Linked DNA regions of Homo sapiens: region 1 is linked to region 2. The links are contacts of gene promoters, found by promoter capture Hi-C in human tissues and cell types (Jung and others, 2019). All regions are on one chromosome and are shown on one strand. Each heading gives the region's core, a stretch centred on a gene start or on the middle of the fragment in contact. The rest is flanking DNA. Distances are from core to core; before and after follow the strand shown. Region 1 has its middle 91 kb from the start of CYSLTR2. Region 2 holds the start of MLNR (motilin receptor).

Evidence for each region. The method cuts DNA at HindIII sites, captures the fragments that hold promoters and counts their contacts. A contact is called where the count stands out against the background at its distance.
Region 1: a contact is called between a fragment that was not itself captured here and the fragment with the promoter of MLNR in region 2, in 2 of the 25 tissues and cell types used here (IMR-90 fibroblasts and dorsolateral prefrontal cortex).

The regions. Positions count from the first base shown.
Region 1 is chr13:48,743,346-48,746,692 of GRCh38, reverse strand. No RefSeq gene overlaps it. Among named protein-coding and RNA genes, the nearest start is that of CYSLTR2, 91 kb to the right of the region's middle. The HindIII fragment of the contact is 6,090 bases long and covers 1-3,347 here.
Region 2 is chr13:49,218,440-49,221,676 of GRCh38, reverse strand. MLNR (motilin receptor) reads right to left here and starts at 1,339. Exons shown (of 2, transcript NM_001507.1): 1 at 439-1,339. The coding sequence starts at 1,339. RefSeq lists silencers at 1,307-1,386, 1,457-1,716, 1,653-1,909. The HindIII fragment of the contact is 10,157 bases long and covers 1-3,237 here.

The DNA.
Region 1 (3,347 bases), core at 807-3,306, 480 kb after region 2:
ATGCCCACTCATCATTTTCTTCTCTTCAGGAATTGTTTTGTGCAATAATAAAATGCTATTGCTTCTTAGTGATTTGTATGTGGCAAAAGAGCCAAAAATTATATCTGCTGGATCTTGTTTGCCTTAAAAACAAAATTCCGTTTCTTTCAGGTATGATATAATTTGACTTGTCTTATTCTTCATGGATATTACATTTTCATCTTTGTTTTTCTGAATTCTGACATAGTTGTCTCTGTTGCATCATGGGAAAGGTGAGAACTTAAAACAAAAATTCTTACTATTTGAGTTCAGTTTTATCTTCGCAAACATTACAAGACATAAAATGACCTTTGCTGATACTGGCTCCTGTGGCTCAATGCCGCATGGAAGGGACCACAATATATTTAACTGGGAGACATGCCCTACTGACTTTGCAGTTGGAAAAATGGTAAATAATCAAATTCTCTCTTTGTCTTTGTTCACCATCATGATTTTCTGGCAGCAAGGAGAAGTACTCTGAGATGGTTAAGAAGAACATATTAACACAGTGGGTGTGATAGGTGAACAGATTGGGATGAGCACACTTTCTATGATTGAATTTCTTTCTAAGTTGTTGGATAATTTTAAATTTATGTGTATCACCTTTCCATAGTTGAGTGGGAAACTGGGATCTCATATAGGGTCTTTTTGGTTAAAGGATTTGTGGGTTTCCTGCTTAAGAGATCACAAGCCTCTATTCCTCCCCTGAGCTGTTACTGGCCCTGGGTGTTCCTTGGCAATACTATGAAGTAGGGGAAGACCATCTGGGATATCCCCGCTACATCCCTTTCACAGACCCTTCACCCTCTTCTGGGCTCCCTTCTCTGTGGAGTATCTGGCTGCCCAGAGTCCTGTGCTGTCAAACCTCACCCTTGGCAGCTCTCACTTGTTTCCCTTCTTGTTGCCCTGGGGCAGGGGGAAAGATAAAATGTGCAGCATTGCTTTCGGTACCTAGATCCATTTCAAATCATTTGTTTTTTGTACCTGGTCCCATTTAAAAAGTTACAGATATATCTCTATACTTATCACCTATATCAATGACTTAAAATTACTTTATTCGATTTTTCAAGTAAAACGTGTACAAGATTTGTATACTGAAAACTACAAAATGCTGATGAAAGAAATCAAAGAAGCTCTAAATAAATGGAAAGACTTACATATTCACAGATTGGAAGACTCAACATAATAAAGATGTCAGTTTTCCCCGTACAGATTTATAGATTTAATGCAGTTTCTATCAAAATCCCAGTGAGAATTTTTTTATAGTTATAGACTAGTTTATTCTAAAATTCATATGGAAAGACAAATGAATTAGCATAGCTAAAACAATTTTGAAAAAGAATAAATTGGAAGGAATCACTCTACTTTATTTTAAGACCATGTACACTACAGTAATCTTGACAGTGTGGTGTAGGTGAAGGAATAGAAACAAACATAGATCAATGGAACAGAATAAAGCTTCAAGAAATAAACTCGCATAAATATGCTCAACTTATTTTTTATTGTTCTAAGTAAAGTACATATAACATAAAATTTACTATATAAACCATTTTTAAATGTACAGTTTAGCAGTATTAAATACATTCATAATGTACAAATATCACCACCATTCATCTCCATAACTATTTTCATAGTATAAAACTGGAACCCTATACCCATTAAATAATTAATAATTATTTAATAATAATTAGTTATTAAATAATAACTCCCTCCCCTCAGTCTGTAGCATCCACCCTTTTACTTTCTGTCTCTATGATTTTGACTACTCATATTCCTTCATATAAGTTGAATCATATAGTACTTGTATTTTTGTGACTGACTTATTTCACTGAACATAAGGTTCATCCATGTTATAGCATATTGGAGAATTTCTTTCCTTTTAAAGGGCAATATTCCATTGGATAGTGTTTTAGTCAAATTTATGCTACTATCACAAAATATCACAGACTAGGTAAATTATAATGAACTGAAATTTATTTGACGTACAGTTATGGAGGCTGGGAAGTCCCAGAACATGGCACTGGCATTTGGTGAAGGCCTTTGTGTTGTGTCATTCCATCACAGAAGGCAGAAAAACAAGAGAGAGTGAGAGTGAGGGAAAGAGGGCTCATACTTTACCTGGGAACCCTAATTGGATGATCATGCGATTACTCAATTGGTTATTGGATAATCCTGCAATACGCCAATCCTTATTATAACAGCATAAATCTATTTATGATGGCTGGCAGAGTCTTCATGACCTAATCATCTCTTTAAAAGTCCCACCTTTCAACACCGTTGCATTGGGGATTAAATTCCCAACACATGAACTTTGGGGGGCACAGTCAAACCATAGCATGTGGGTATACCACATTTTGCTTTTCCATTCATTCATTGATGTACATTTGGGTTACTTCAACATTTTAGCTACTGTAAATAATGCTGCTATGAGAATGGGTGTACAAATACCTCTTTGAGACCCTGCTTTCAGTTCTTTTTGGTATATACCAAGAAGTGGAATTGCTAGATCATACGGCAATCCTATTTTTCACTTTTTGAGGAAATACTATACTGTTTTTCACAGCGGCTGTGCCATTTTATATTCCCACAAACAGTGCACAAGTGTTCCTATTTTTCCACGTCTTCACCAATCCTTGCTATTTTTGATATTTTTGATAGGAGTCATCCTAATGTGTGTGAGGTGGTATCTTATTGTAGTTTGATTTGCATCTCATATTGACCATTTTTACATGTACTTTGGTGAAATGTCTATTCAAGTCCTTTGCCCAGTTTTGAATCAGTCTGTGTTATTGTTGCTGAGTTTTAGGAGTTCTCTATATATTCTGGATTTTTATCTCTTGTAAGCTATGTGATTTCCAAATGCTTTCTCCCATTCTGTGGTGTATTAAGCCGTTCTTGTATTGCTATAAAGAAATACCTGAGGTTGTGTAATTTATAAGGTAAAGAGGTTTAATTGGCTCATAGTTCTGCAGGCTGTACAGGAAGCATGACATCGGCAACTGGTCAGCTTCTGGGGAGGTTTCAGGAAGCTTACAATCATGGCAGAAGGTGACGGGGGAGCAGACAGTCACATGGTGAGAGTGGAAGCAAGAGGTGGGGAGGGGGGAGGTGCCACACACTTAAACAACCAGATCTCATAATTGCTTGCTATCTTGACGACACCTCCAAACCATAAAGGATCTGTCCCCATGACCCAAACACCCATCCCCGTCTCCAACAGGGGATTATAATTAGACATGAGATTTAGAGGGGACAACATCAAAACTGTATCATGTAGGCTGCCTATTTATTCTGTTAGTAGTGTCTTTTGATGCACAAATTAACTGATT
Region 2 (3,237 bases), core at 90-2,589:
ACGAGCAAGGTTTACTTTAGCCTTCAGCATCACTTAACATTAAATAAAAAATTTTAGCTTAATGAAATCTCCCTCGTCTTCTCAAGAGCACTGTGAGGACTCCTCATCTGTGGCATCTAACAGGTGGTTGGATTAAGAATTACCAACTCTCCTTTCTGGTCTCAGAGGCTCTGGAAAAGCACTGCTGGTTACTGAATCGGATCCGGGGATCCCACCCTCAAAGCGCCCTGGGGTCCCCCAGAGCTCCTGGGGGACAGGACATGGTTTTCTCGGGGGATGGGAAGTACCGGCGGGTGGAGGCTGGAATCGAAATAGGAAAGGGAGCTGGAAGCGGCGCCCAGAGCTGGGCGAGCAGGGGAAGGGGACCCAGCGTTTGCGCGGTCCCCGGCGGGGCGGACTGCAGGCAGGCGTCTTTGGAACCACGGCGGCTCCACTTACGCAGGACGCGGACGGTCTGCCGGTGGCCTCTCTCCCGCCCCGAGGCGGCCGGGCCTCGCAGCGGCCGCCGGCTGCTCCACAGCTCCCGCCCGATGAGCCCGTAGAGGATGCTGAGGCACAGAAAGGGCAGGAAGAAGTAGGCGGTGGTGACCCACAGCATGACACGCAGCGCGCCCAGCTGCGCGGGGCTCGGCCGGCATTCGCGGCTGAACAGCGCCGCGGCCTCCGCGGTCTCGGGCCCCGACGGCGGGGACGGCGGTGGCGCCCGCGAGAGCCAGAGAGGCGGCGACGAGGCGAGAGGCGAGGAGGCGATCCGCGCGGTGCCATTGAGGCCCGGGACTACGGAGATGCCGGGGTCCTGCTCGACGCCCACCAGGAACAAGAAGGGACCGGCAGAGAGCAGCGCCACGGCCCAGAGCACAGCGATGAGCGCGCGGACGCGGCGCCGGGTGACCAAGACGCGGGCGCGGAGCGGGCGGCAGATGGCCAGGTAGCGCTCGACGCTGAGCGCGGTCATGTGCAGCAGCGTGGCGTAGGTGCAGCCCTCGCCCACGTAGAGGGACAGGCGGCAGAGCAGCGGCCCGAACACCCAGGGCCGCGAGCGCCAGAGGCGGTACAGGTCGAACGGCAGCCCGAGCAGGATGAGTAGGTCGGACACGGCCATGCTGCCCAGGTACAAGTTGGTGGTGGTCCGCATGTCCCGGTAGCGCCCGATCAGCATCACGGTCACCACGTTGCCGCTCACCCCGACGACGAACAGGCACAGGCACACAGCGGTCACCGGCACCAGCGCCCCCAGGGGAAAGGGCGAGCAGCGGCGCTCGTCGCAAGGCGGCAGCGCGGGCCACGGCGGCTCCCGCGCCCCCTCGGGGCCGTCGCTGCCGTTCCAGGGGCTGCCCATGGGTGCTCCGCGCGGCCGCCGCGTCCCGGGTCGGGCTGGGAGCCTGGCGCGTGGTCCCTCTCGGTGAGCGCCTCCTTTCCCAGCCCGCACGCTGCGGGCGCGGCAGGTCAGACGGCGGAGCGCTGCGCTGCGCTGCGGGGCGCGAGAAGCGGCTCTGCGGGGTGGGCTCCGAGGCGCTCCCGAGCTAGCTGCGCGCAGTCTCCGCCCACGGCCGCGGCCCGCCCCGGCCCGGCCCTGCTCCGCTCCCGCGCCCTCTCCCGGGCCCATGCAGTTCCAGGGCGCTTCCCTCTCCACTAACTGGAATACCCGGCGCCCTTAGCGCACGAGCCCTACCCGGTCCGGTGAGCGATGTCTGCACCCTAGACAGCTTTGGTTACAGGACTGAGCACTGTACGGGCGCTTTTGTCAGTCTGGTACTCCGGGCACCTTCGAAGGGATCTGGTCTGGTGGCTGGTAGCTGCCGCTTGACGGTGGAGGAGGGCTCATGGTAATCCTCAGGAAGCCATAATGCTAAATAATAGGAGGGGAGTCTAGACCAGAATCTAGAGCCTCTCCTGTCTAATCCTGGCTCTACAACCGAGTAACTTGTGTAATCTTGGGCTAGTCCTGGTCTCGCCCAGCCCAGTTCTCCTCTTCTGTAAATTCGCGAGTGGTGGAGGGAGCTGACCATATAATTGACCAAATAATTTCTTTTTTTTCTTTTTTTCTTTCTTTCTTTCTTTTTTTCTTCTTGAGACAGGGTCTCACTGTCGTCCAGGCTGGAGTTTAAGTGGCGCGATCACAGCTCACTGCAGCCTCGACCTCCCAGGCTCAAGCAGTCCTCCCACCTCAGCCTCCTGAGTAGCTGGGAGCACAGGAGCGCCCAAGCCCCGGCTAAATTTTGTGTTTTTTGTGTAGTCAGGGTTTCGCCATGTTGGCCAGCCTGGTCTCGAACTCCTGACCCCAGGTGGTCCACCCGCCTCGACCTCCCAAAGTGCTGGGATTACAGGCGTGAGCCACCGCGCCCGGCAGTGACCAGATAATTTCAAGGATCCGTGAGCATGTTTACTTATTATAAAGAACAAGACAAATATTTACGTGGACACTAGAGTACTTTCACATGTGATATGTCATTCTTATGTACAACATGTTTTATAAACTTAAAAAACTAGAGGATTTGTCAACACCGGAAAGAACGAAAATTGGGGAAAGGGGCTAAAACGGATGTTCAGTCTGTTCGGTGTGGTCTTAATAACAATAGCTAACACTTACTGAGAATTTAGATGGATCTGGCCCTGTGCTCTCCATTTAATCCTCATGGCCCGGGGCGCTCCTTTCGCCCATGAACAAAGCGGTCTTGCTTGAGATCAAGCAGGCAGTAAGAGGCGGGACTGGGATATGGGCTCTGGTCGGCCTAATCCCAGAGCTTGCAAGCCTGACGTCCTACTCACTGCCCAGCTCCACCCCCTCAGTGGCTTAAATCCTCAACCTCTTCTCTGGAGTCTCGATTCTGGACCTGACACCTGGCTTTGCCTAGGGCAAGCTTCTCCTGCAGTTCTCTCTCACATGCAGACTGTGAGCTTGGAGGAGGGACACCTGTCGCCTCCCTCATCGCTGCTGTTTCCAGCGGTCCTAAAACCGCCCTCCCTAGCGCTTTCCTCCGTGGTCACCCGTAGTCCCTGAGGGACAGGTGCCTGCGCTCTCTTTGAAGCACTGCATCTGCGGCCGTTCACACCCATGCCGAGTCTTGGAATGCCTTGGCCTCTAGTTTGTTGACCTCCTTTCCACCTATGACCTTGCTCTCCACCCGATCTCAGCCGCGCCTGTCGACGGAACTTACACCTCACGGTTGCCTGCCAGCCTTCCTCCACCTCCACTTCAGTCAGCCCTCTTTCTGACCTCCGCCCGCTCTCTTTTTA